Linked DNA regions of Homo sapiens: regions 1 and 2 are each linked to region 3. Evidence: promoter capture Hi-C in 16 types of primary human blood cells and fetal thymus (Javierre and others, 2016). All regions are on one chromosome and are shown on one strand. The core of a region is centred on a gene start or on the middle of the fragment in contact, and the rest is flanking DNA. Distances in the headings are between cores, read along the strand shown. Region 1 overlaps UBE2F (ubiquitin conjugating enzyme E2 F (putative)). Region 2 has its middle 46 kb from the start of UBE2F-SCLY. Region 3 holds the start of UBE2F-SCLY (UBE2F-SCLY readthrough (NMD candidate)).

Region 1 (3,961 bases), core at 516-3,015, 62 kb after region 3:
AGTGCTGGGGTTACAGGTGTGAGCCACCGCGCCGGGCCGGATGCCTTTCTCTTCACAAGTACAGTTAGTGCCCATTTGCCCATTTCATTTTTGTATATACTGCTCCTTCTTCAATATCAGCCTCGTTTTTCACAGATGGTTAAAAATACATTTTACCAGACATACCTTTTTAAAAAAGCATCTTCCCTTTGAAGTATCTGTCCTTTACGTATTGAAACATTAAAATTCCACTATCTTTGGTTGCAGGTTATAAATGTGTTTGGCCCAGGCCCCCACTGCCCCGCTTCCTCCTGTGCTTGTGAGGACACCTGGCTCACTTTCTGGGGGGCCATACTCTACTTCCCTGTCTTGTCCCTGCCTTAGTCAGAAATGGGTCCAGAATAGGAAGCTCTCTTGTCCCTTTTGCCGTCTTCTGGGAAGTCAGATGATTAGCAAAGCCTTATAAGGATGAACAGATGGTATCCTGATATAAAAGCCAGACGTCTTAAGGAAAAAGATTGTCAGATTTGACCATGTAAAAATTAAAAACACAAAATGGAAGAAGAAATGATCAACTGGATTAACATCCTTGGTATGTAAATAGTCCTTACTATTCATTATAAAAAAGACGGATACTTCTCTGGAAAAATGTGGCATTGGCTACAAATAGGTGATTCATAAAAGGAGAAATAGAGGTGGGCAGTAAATATCTGAGGAGATGTTCACTCTCATCAGTAACCAGAGAAAGGCGCAGAAGACCATGAAGTGTGGCTTACCACTCACCAGATTGGCAGGCACAAAGGTAGATACTTGGTGGCTGGGGGAGGAGTGTGTGACAGAGAGCGAGCAGGCTCTCTTGTTGGAGGGTGTGTGTATTTGCACACCTTTCATTGGTCCTTCAGCCACGTAGACTACCTGTAACTCGTATGTACCCTTGGACTTGTCAGCTGCACTTCTAGGGATTTAATCTAAGGAAATAATGTGCCAGATTGATGTACGGGGACCACCTTGTTAGTGAAAAGCAGACAGTGTCCAGTGGCAGCTTTATGGTGTGTCCCGAATAAAGGGAAGGAAAAGCCCAACCGCACCTCTGGTTTGTGGTGACGCTGACAGCAGCTCATCAGCCCTTCCCACAGCAGGACTGATGGGTGCCTGGGGCTCCACAGGCCTTTCAGTGCTGGCACACAGGAGCACCTTCCTCTTTTAGAGAGATTTGCCCTGGCTCCACCTTGTTGTCCCGGCAGGGACCCTTCGCCTGCTCTGGCACAAGGTCAGAGGCTCCATGTCTGTGGGATTGGAGGGCCTAGGTCAAGAGCTCAGTCAAAGCTTCTCCTAGAGTCCAAGCTTCTATTACAGTTCGTGGGGTGTCCTTTGTCTCCTTGCTTAATGACATCTCTGATAGCCAAGTGTCTCTGTCTCCTGAGCTGTTGCTGGGACTATCCTCTGTGAGGCCAGGCTAGAACTTCCTCAGTGACTGGAGGCACTGCACCCCTGATGGGCCTCACTGCTGCCCAGACCAGTGGCCACCACATGCTGGGGCCGGCCTTGCCTCCCCATTACCTGCCCCAGCCAGATGCAAAGCCCTCCTGCTCTGGCTGTGCTGTTAACAGCAAAGCTCAGGGTGAGCTTCCTTCTCCTTCATTCAGCTAATGTTGATTGAGCTTAGGCACTGGCAGAGGAATTAGCATTCCCTGCTTTTATGGATGAAACAGGCATTCAACAAATAAATGACAAATATATAACTGAAGGTTGCATTAAGATCTATATAAGAAAATGATTAGCTAGATCAGAAATAATTCCTCCATTCAACAAAATATAGCCACTAGGATTTGACTTCATTCCCAAAAAAGTTATTCAGAAGTTGACAATTCAGATCCACAAGTCACCAATACCTCTGTAGGGTAGAAAGACGTCCACCCAGTTGGTAGGATACATGATTTGAGTTTTCCTTTTTTCTTTTTAAGGCTAAAAGTAAATTTTAATGGTCAATTTAAGGTTAGTTATCTGTTTTTTTTAACTGCTCTTCACAGACAATTAAGATTATAGCTTTGATTCAAACTCTACATATTTTTCTCCTGATCTGAATTGACTTTTGTGAATTTAAACATGCTCTAATTCAAAAAAGTTTATCAGAGGTAACAATTATGGATAAAGCCTGATATTTTATTTACAGATCAAAGCCACAGCACAATAATTCAACAAATACAAAAGTAATTTTATCTCCAGAAGGAAGCTTGGCAATAAATTATACTTTTTTCAAAGTATGGAATGATCATTTAATCCTTTTAAAATTATTTAAAATTTTTTTTTTACTTTTTAAGATTATTGGGAAAATGCTAATCTTCTCTGTATCATCCCAATTTGAGCATATGTGCTGCGGAAGTGAGCACTGGAATGATCATTTCCATGAGAGTATATGGTGTGCCTTTACAGCTGATAGACAGTAATGACCAGGACTCTCAGGTACCAGCTTCAGAAACAGGGCTTCATCAGACCTCTGAATCCTGGTGTGCCTTCCCTGAGCATGGGCCCCCCACCTAAGGAGTGATTGATACTCAGAATTTTGCATTAATCTTTTATCCTCAAGCTTTTTCTTTTGAACTTTAAAAAAATAAAAAAAAAAACCCAGTTACGGCTGGGCGTGGTGGCTCACGCCTGTAATCCCAGCACTTTGGGAGGCCGAGGCGGGCGGATCACGAGGTCAGGAGATCGAGACCATCCTGGTTAACACGGTGAAACCCCGTCTCTACTAAAAATTCAAAAAACAAAATTAGCCGGGCGTAGGTGGTGCATGCCTTGTAGTCCCAGCTACTCAGGAGGCTGAGGCAGGAGAATGGCGTAAAACCGGAGAGGTGGAGCTTACAGTGAGCCGAGATCGTGCCACTGCACTCCAGCCTGGGAGACAGAGAGAGACTCCGTCTCAAAAAAAAAAAAAAAAACCCAGTTATTAAAATGTCATATGCTGGGAGCTCCCATTGTTGTTAACCTGCATCAGCAGTGTTTCAGAATGTCGGTGCCCGTGAGCTGCCTGGGTTGGAAGAACAACATTGTTCATGAGGCGTGTGCCCTTGGGCGTGTCTTCTCTGTGCCTTGGTTTCCTCCTGTATAAGACAGGGAAACAGGGATGCTCTCTTCACGGGTGGTTATAGGCATTAAGTGAATTTAATGGCACAGCACCTAGGATTGTGCCTGACATACACATAATAAGCTCTAAGCTTCAGTTACTCCTGTTGTCATGTTGTCATTTTGTTGCCATTGTCATTTTCTTTCTTTCTTTCTTTTTTTTTTTTTGAGACAGGGCCTCACACTATTCCCAGGCTGGAGTACAGGGGCGCCATCACAGCTCACTGCAGCCTTGAACTTCTGGACTCAAGCAGTCCTCCACCTTTGGGAGTACAGGCGTGCACCACTATGCCTGGCTAATTTTTAATTTTTAGTAGAGACAGGGTATCACTGTGTTGCCCAGGCTGGTCTCAAACTCCTGGACCCAAGCTATCTTCCCACCTTGCCTCGGCCTCCCAGAATGCTGAGATTACAGGCATGAGCCACCATACCCAGCCACCATTGTCATTTTCTGAATATTAAATTGACAAATGTTCTTTGTGTGTTGTTTTAAACATGCTCTTCCTCAGCCTAAAACTTCCATGTCAAGTATTACAACAAATAGATAAACATAACACAAGACGTTATAATTGAATATGTATATAACCTTGGAGGTGGAAATGCCTTCCTCAGCAAGAGAAAACTGAGAAGCCACAGAGGAAAAGATGGGTTTAATAAAAAGTAGAGCTCCTGCATGGCACACACCGAGAGGACTAGTTGGCAGCGTGCAGGGCACCTGTGGCTGCTCCTCACTAACCACTGTGTGTTTGTCTTTTTCAGTTTATTGAGAGAACATTCAATTGATGGCACTGGCTGGGCTCCCACAAGAACATTAAAGGTAGAGTCTGTGCCTTGATCTTGATCATAAGTTGTCCCTGTG
Region 2 (3,597 bases), core at 530-3,029, 46 kb before region 3:
CTCCGCTCGCTGCAACCTCCACCTCCCAGGTTCAAGCAATTCTCCTACCTCAGCCTCCCAAGTAGCTGGGATCACAGGCGCCCACTACCATACCTGGCTAATTTTTACATTTTTAGTAGAGACGGGGTTTCACCATGTTGGCCAGGCTGGTCTTGAACTCCTGACAAGTGGTCCACCCACCTCGCCCTCCCACAGTGCTGAGATTACAGACATGAGCCACGATGCCCAGCAGGTTCTGATCTTGACTGGACCCCTTTTTAGCTGAGTGACTTTGAGCAAACTTTTCATCTTTCTGATAATTTTGTGTGCATGGAAAAGATGACTTAGCATTGGTCACATGCCCTATTCCAAGGATGGTGTTTGAGCTCCAAAGAGCAGGCCACCTGCCAGAGGACCCGTATTTTTTGGGGACAGGGATGAGAATGGGCAAGAAGAGAGCAGATGTAGGCTGGGAGCCTTGAGAACGGGAGAGGAAAGAGGTTTCAAGACATTTTTCTCTAGATTGTGAACATAATTGCACTTTGGTTCCCCCTAGAACAAATTTAAGAAGGACCTAAATTGCTTTTCAAGGCTATTTTAGGAAGTGAACTTGGATCTGACTTTGTTTTTTTTCTTCCTGGGCCTGTGCGGAGGTGGACCATGGGTGCCCATCTTTATTTGGGTTACAAAAATGTGAAGGGGGTGCAGAGGAACAGCGGGAAGAGAGCAGCCCTCCAAAGCATCCCTCTCTGCCCCACCCCAGCCACAATCCTTGGGCCTGGGGACAGTGCTCATGCCCCCACGTGAATCGCTTCCCCACAGACACTCTGACAGGAGGCCGGGGAAGTTTGCTTCCTGTTTTCTGGGGGCAGGGCGGGAGGCAGACAGGGGTGACTGGAGGTGCATGTCCATGACAGGTGGCAGCTGCTTTCCATCCCCAGTGCATCCTGCCATGAGAGCACCTACATCCCAGCCCTGCCCCTGCCACCTAAGATCTCTTCTTACAAGAAGCAGTGCCACCTTTAAAATGTTTCAAATGGTCAGGCCGGGTGCAATGGCTCCCACTTGTAATCCCAGTACTTTGGGAGGCTGAGGAGAGCAGATTGCTTGAGCTCAGGAGTTCGAGACCAGGCTGGGCAACACGACGAAACCCCATCTCTACCAAAAATACAAAAACTTAACCAGGTATGGTGGCGCACACCTGTGGTCCCAGCTACTCTGGAGGCTGAGGTGGGAGGATCACTTAAGCCTGGAGGTGGGAGGCTGCAGCAAGCCAAAATCATGCCACCGCACTCCAGTGTGGGTGACGGAGCAAGACCCCATCTCAAAAAAAAAGTTTCAGATGGTCATAGGTGTGAAAGTATATAATGTAAATAAAATGTTTTAAAAAACAATATTTTTAAAAGTTGTAGCATAGAAGTGATGGCACCAAGCTGCCTTAGTTGAAACCAAATCCTGGCTGTGCCGATTAAAAATGGTGAGGCAGGCTGGGCACAGTGGCTCACGCCTGTCATCCCAGCACTTTGGGAGGCTGAGGCTGAGGCTGGAGGATCACTTGAGCCCAGGAGTTTGAGACCAGCCTAGGCAACATAGTGAGACCTCATCTCTACAAAAAAATTTAAAAAATTAGCTGGGTGTGGTGGCATGTGCCTGTAGTCCCAGCTACTCAGGAGGCTGTGGGGGAGGATCGCTTGGGCTGGGGAGGCAGTAAGCCATGATCACACCACTGCACTCCAGCCTGGGTGACAGAATAAGACCCCATGTCAAAAAAAAAAAAAAAGAAAGGAAGGAAGAAAGGCGAGGCAAGCTCCTCAACCCTCTGGGCTTCAGTGTCATCGCCTGCAGAGTGCTGGCCATGGACACTTCAGGGACTCACAGTGAAGACAGCCCTTGGCCATGTGGCAGGCACATGGCAAACGCTGCTAACCGGGGCCATAGTGATTCACTTTCACAGCAGGGCTGGGAGCTGTGGCTGCACGTGCACGTGAACACATGTGGGTAAATGCTCCCGTCTCTCAGTGTTCCCAGCCCTTCTGCACAGAAGGTCGGGTGAGTCAAAAGGAGAATAATCGGTGATCATAATGATAGGAAACGATCGAGTTTGGGGATTGTCTCCTCCTCCTCGGGCTCGGCTGAGGATAAAGCAGTGCAGTCGGAGTCTGCCCAAGCTGCTGCTATAACAGGCTGGGGACTTAAACAACAGAAGTGCGTTTCTCGCAGCTGTGGAGGCTGGAAGCCTGAGATCAAGGGGTCGGCAGGGTTGGTTCCTTCTGATGCCTCTCTTCTTGGCTTGTCATTTCCTCCCTGCCTCATATGGTCGTCTTTCTGTGCCTGCATCCTAATCTTTTTTTTTTCTTTTGAGACAGGGTCTCGCCCAGTCACCTAGGCTGGAGTGCAGTGGCGCAATCTCCGCTCGCTGCAGCCCCCACCTCCCGGGTTCAAGCAATTCTCCCACCTCAGCCTCCCAAGTAGCTGGGATTACAGGTGTGTGCCACCACGCTTGACTAATTTTTGTATTTTTAATAGAGATGGGGTTTCACCATGTTGGCCAGGCTGGTCTTGAACCCTTGACCTCAGGTGATCCACCCATATTGGCCTCCCAAAGTGCTGGGATTACAGGCATGAGCCACTGCACCTGGCCCTAATCTTCTCTTCTTATAAGGGCACAGTCACATTGGGTTAGGGCCCACCCAGTGACCTCATTTAACCTTAGTCACCTCTGTAAAGACCCTGGGTCCAAACCCAGTCACATTCTGAGGTACTGCTGGTTAGGACTTCAAGATGTGAAGTCACATTCTGAGGCAAGGACACAACTCAGCCAGGACAAGAGCCACTTCCCCAACCATAAAAGTGTCACCCAGGGCAGTGGGCTTTTCTACCTGACCCAACACAGCCAATTTAAGCTGGAATGGAATTAAAGTGTTGTAATTCACGTGAAAAGTCATGGAAAACGGCACTGCAGTAAGGCATTGGCTACGGAAACATCACAAGATTGAATAAAGACCTGCTTTGCATCAACGCACATCATGGCACGTTCTCATTGTGGGAAAATGTGGTTTAATGAGGGAGACACGGGGAGGGGCAGAAGACCTCAGGGAGATTCCAAAGAGGATTCCCAAGCAGGTGCATTCACGGGCATTGGTGAAAGGCAGCAGGGGCTTGTCATCCCGCTTCTGAAAAATGGGCAACTCTCCACTGATGCCTGTGTTCCCCCATGGGGGAGAGTGGGGGTGGAGAGGGCAGGACCGCCAAACCAGCCTGCCGGGGAAGGTGGGGGACAAGGGCAGGAGTGCAGCCTGGGCCTGCTTCCTGAGGCCAACAGATGCCACCCCTGCAATCCCAGCACTTTGGGAGGTCGAAGTGGGCAGATCGCCTGAGGCCAGGAGTTTGAGATCAGCCTGGGCAACACAGTGAGATCCTGTCCCTACTAAAAAAATTTTTTAAAATTGAGAGAGAGACAGATGTCTGCCGGCCAGCCTCACACAGCGGGCCAGGCCGGAGAAAGCAATGGAGGAACAGAAAGGCCCTGAGCCCCTATGAAGGGGCCCATCCCTGACCTCTGCTCTCCTAGTCTTCATCAGCCTGGAGGTTATGTCCATTTTGCAGTTAAGGAGATTG
Region 3 (3,925 bases), core at 632-3,131:
GTGCAATCCATTCTGCAGACAGTGACGCTTATGAGTAAGACAAGTGCTCACGCCATTCCGGCTGCACCTTCACACACTGCAATCTTCAAGCCCTTATCTCCTCTCACCAGGACTCATGCCGCCAGCGCATGCAATCTCTATCCAGCAGATGTGTTTTAATCACCTGCATGTTCCAGGATGGGAAAGGGGGTGGCAGGAGGTGACGCTGGAGGAAGAAGGAAGAGGAGGGCTGAGGAGCTGAGCTTAGTCAGGGAAACAGGCCATGACAATAAGGAAGAGGGAAGTGCAGGGCTCCAAGGAAGACACAGAGGGCACCTGCACTGCCCCACCCCACCCCCAGGCTTTGAGGCCTATCAGAAGTTGGTGTCTTAGCTTAGGAAAACTTGAGAGTTAGCCGGGCAAAAAAGGGAGAGACATGGTCCCAAACACAAGAAATAACACAAGTTGTGTTCTTTCTTTTTTCTTTTTTTTCTGGAAACAGTCTTGCTGTGTCACCCAGACTGGAGTGCAGTGTCAGCTCACTGCAACCTCCGCCTCCTGGGTTCAAGCAATTCTCCTGCCTCAGCGTTCCAAATAGCTGGGATTACAAGGGCGCACCACCACGCCCGGCTTTTTTGTATTTTTAGTAGAGATGGGGTTTTGCCATGTTGGCCAGGCTGGTCTTGAACTCCTGACCTCAGGTGATCTGTCTGCCTCGGCCTCCCAAAGTGCTGGGATTACAGGCCTGAGCCACTGCGCCCGGCTGAGTTGTGTTCTTGACCAGTTTTCCTGACTCCATTCCCACCGACTCACTTAGAGCCAAAGCCTTTATTATTATTATGGGGACAGGGTCTGCCCTGTCACCCAAGCTGGAGTGCAGTGGTGCGATCACGGCTCACTGCAGCCTCAACCTCCTGGGCTCAGGTGATCCTCCCATCCCAGCCTCCTGAGTAGCTGGGACTACAGGCGCGCGCCACCACGCGGCTAATTTTTTTTTTCTTTTTTTGTAGCGATGGGGTCTTGCCACCATCAGGAGGCTGGTCTTAAACTCTTGGGCTCATGGGATCCTCCCACTTTGGCCTCCCAAAGTGCTAGGATTACAGGCGTGAGCCACCGGGCCCGCCAGCCTCCTTTAGGAAGAAAACCTGATAGTCACTCCACTGTTAGAAACCTCTCAGTGGGGTTTTTCGAAATGAAAGTCTAACTCCTTGTCTCTTTCTGACCGTTTCCATGCTGAACCTCATCTTTCTAATGGCCCACTCCTCCAGGGGCCTGCCTGACGCCCAGGACGGCCCCTCGTCAATCACACAGGACGCTAATGGGCGCGGGATGAATCTGGGCGCCCAAAAGAGGACAAGTTGAAATGGATTTTTAAGGTACTTTAAACACATTTAAGAGAGAAAAGAAGGAATAAAAGGGACATGACAAGAACAGTGGGGCCTGTGGGCGCAGCACACGGTTTGGGGTTGGTCGTGGCTTGCGTGTCTGACCGCCCGGTCTCCCTCACCGCCTGCACTGCAGGCTGCGGGGGCCTGTCCAGTCCTTTGCACTCCAGGTGCGGCGCTGGACAGCGGGAGCTCCAGCCACGGAGGCCGCTCCTTCAGGGAAGGATAGCCCGGGCTCCTCCGTGCCCCTAAACCCTGCAGACCACGAAGTGAACCCGTGTTGGAACCAGGTGCAAAACCCCCAGCCCTCCGGCGCTCGGGCTCCAGAGCCAACTCGGAATCCCCGCCCCTAACGCTACTCGCCAATCAGCGGCGGTTGCGAAATCCGTGCCCGCCCCCTGGCCGCGCCCTCTGCCAATGAGCGAGGTCCGAGAGGCCCGTCGCCCAGCCCAGTCCCGATCGGCGCACGCCGCTGTTCGCGTGTCTGGTTCCAAATAAAGTTTTTCGCGACTTTGAATTTTTTTTTTAAAGCGCCCGCTGCTGTCTCGGCTGCCGCGGGCGAGAGCGGCCGAGTCCCCGCCCCGCCACTTCCGGTCCCGCCGCCGGGAGCCGGTGCGGCTGTGAGGGGCCGCGTCTCGCAGCAGCCGCCCGGACCGGGCATGGTGTTGGGCGCCGGGCCCGCCTCGCCTGTCTCGGGGAGCCCAGGTGAGGAGCGACCGTGCGGCTCTGCGGCGGGGCGAGGTGCGGCCGCCGGTGCACGGGCTGGCCTGCGGGCCGGGCGGAGGGCGCGGGCGGTGGCGGGGCCGCCTCGGGCCCGCCGGGTTCCTCACGCCGGGGGCCTGGCGGGCGCGGGCACCCGGACGCGAGGCCGAGCGGCGTGAATGGGAAGGGGCCGCGGGCCGCGGGCCGCGAGCCGGGGGTCGGAGGCGGCGTCGGCGGCCGGGGCGCTGGCCTCGCCCGGCAGTGAGTGACCGCGGCGGCGGCGGCGGGGGACGGCCCGCGCCGAGCACCTGGTGTGAACCAGGCCCTGGGCCGAGCGTGGCACAGACCTGGCCGCGCTCACGCCCCACTCGCGGGATCGGCTGCCTGCCTTGTACGGAGGAAGCGGGGCGTCCAGCGCCTGGCCAAGGTCACCGGCCCGACGTGGCCGCAGAAACCGGGACTGGACTCCCGATCGGGGCAGGAGTCGCGCTAGGCCGTGAGGAGCGGGGGAGGTGAGGGGAGTGACAACTCGCGCCCGGTCCTCGTACCTGCAGCGGGAAGAGTAAGTATGGACGCTTACCTACAACTGGGGGCGGCCAGGCTAGTTTGGAAAATTTTTACCACAGCAAAGGAGACGAGGAAGGAAGGGCATCTTGGAACAATTAGTGCAGCAGAGTCTTGGTTCCAGACCTAGTTCTGCTGGTGTGTCATCTTGGGTGTGGCCTTCCCCTCCCTGGGCTCAGTTTCCTCATCTGTCACAGGAGAGAATTGGGTCCCCCCACTCTGCATTCCCGACCGCCTGGAAGTGGGGGCAGGATGGGTTGGAATAGCCAGAGAAAGCTTCTTGGAGGAGGAGATGTTGGGATGTAGGTAGGAATCTTCCCCTTAAGGAAGGGGTAGGATTCGTTTGTGAAGGGAAGGAGGGCATTCTAGACCTGGGTATCAGACTGAATAGAAGCTTCTGGAAATGAACAGGGTGTTGTGAAGGAACAAAGAGGAAACTGGCCTGCCTGGTGCAGAGGAATCCTGGCTGAGGAGTGAGATGAAGGCAAGGGGGAGCATAGAGGTGGGAGAGAGAGAGAGATTGAGAGACAGAATCACACCAAGCTTAGTGCTGTGGGGCTTGAGGACCCCCCACCTGGACATACCTGCCTTTCAGGTAGTAGGCAGTGCAGGAAGGGGCAGGTTTACTGCTGAACGTAAAAGGGGCTGGGCTCCAAAGATGGTCGGTCAACCAGCGTACTCCTGTGCCGAGCAGGAGGTTCCTGGGCACTGGCATTCTGTAGAAGAGTGGGATGTGGACTTTGTTGTGCCCTGATCGGGGCCCCTTTGGCTGGGGAAGTTGAGTGTCCCCTAGTGACCCGCAGTCCCATCCTTTATGCTTGGATTGAGACGTCTCCATTCGGAAGGAATTGTAAATAAGTAGCCCCCTCACCTTGAGCTGACTGGCCCCTGGTGTCCCTGCACAAGTGACATGGCCTGGTTTTGCCATTGCTTGCAGGGATGCTGAGTAAATATCACTTGATGGCACTAGTAAGTTGCACACCAGATGCTCTTCTCCGGGCTGTCTGAAAGCAGGTCCCACCCAGAGGAGGAACCTAACTGGGCCAATTACAACTTGTGGAATTTAGAAACTGAGAATGCTGTTCAGAACAGCTGATCTGTTACCGAAATGCTGCCTTAGAGCGTAATTTGCAGGAAAGAGGAAGTTTTGTTTTAAACCAGATCTTCAAGAGTTGAAGCATATTGAAGAAGGAAAAGAATTCTGAAGCAACTGCAGGTATTCAGCTAGCCTCTTGACAGTTTGAAGACTTACTTTTTGATAGAATCCTTTGGTTTAAATTTAATTTTACAGCTAT

Evidence for each region. Contacts are between HindIII fragments. The CHiCAGO score rates a contact against its expected background, and 5 or more counts as called.
Region 1: a fragment that was not itself captured here is called in contact with the fragment with the promoter of UBE2F-SCLY in region 3 in 1 of 17 cell types (activated CD4 T cells); the score reaches 5.4 in activated CD4 T cells.
Region 2: a fragment that was not itself captured here is called in contact with the fragment with the promoter of UBE2F-SCLY in region 3 in 2 of 17 cell types (megakaryocytes and non-activated CD4 T cells); the score reaches 10.3 in megakaryocytes.

What each region holds. Positions count from the first base shown.
Region 1 is chr2:238,026,695-238,030,655 of GRCh38, forward strand. UBE2F (ubiquitin conjugating enzyme E2 F (putative)) reads left to right here. Exons shown (of 10, transcript NM_080678.3): 7 at 3,862-3,919. UBE2F-SCLY (UBE2F-SCLY readthrough (NMD candidate)) reads left to right here. Exons shown (of 19, transcript NR_037904.1): 5 at 3,862-3,919. It also overlaps the pseudogene RNU6-1333P. Among named protein-coding and RNA genes, the nearest start is that of SCLY, 32 kb to the right of the region's middle. RefSeq lists an enhancer at 1,404-2,017. The HindIII fragment of the contact is 889 bases long and covers 1,322-2,210 here.
Region 2 is chr2:237,918,933-237,922,529 of GRCh38, forward strand. No RefSeq gene overlaps it. Among named protein-coding and RNA genes, the nearest start is that of UBE2F-SCLY, 46 kb to the right of the region's middle. The HindIII fragment of the contact is 7,029 bases long and covers 1-3,597 here.
Region 3 is chr2:237,965,064-237,968,988 of GRCh38, forward strand. UBE2F-SCLY (UBE2F-SCLY readthrough (NMD candidate)) reads left to right here and starts at 1,882. Exons shown (of 19, transcript NR_037904.1): 1 at 1,882-2,069. UBE2F (ubiquitin conjugating enzyme E2 F (putative)) reads left to right here and starts at 1,951. Exons shown (of 10, transcript NM_080678.3): 1 at 1,951-2,069. RefSeq lists a cis regulatory region at 1-478 and a silencer at 1,995-2,174. The HindIII fragment of the contact is 5,181 bases long and covers 1-2,904 here.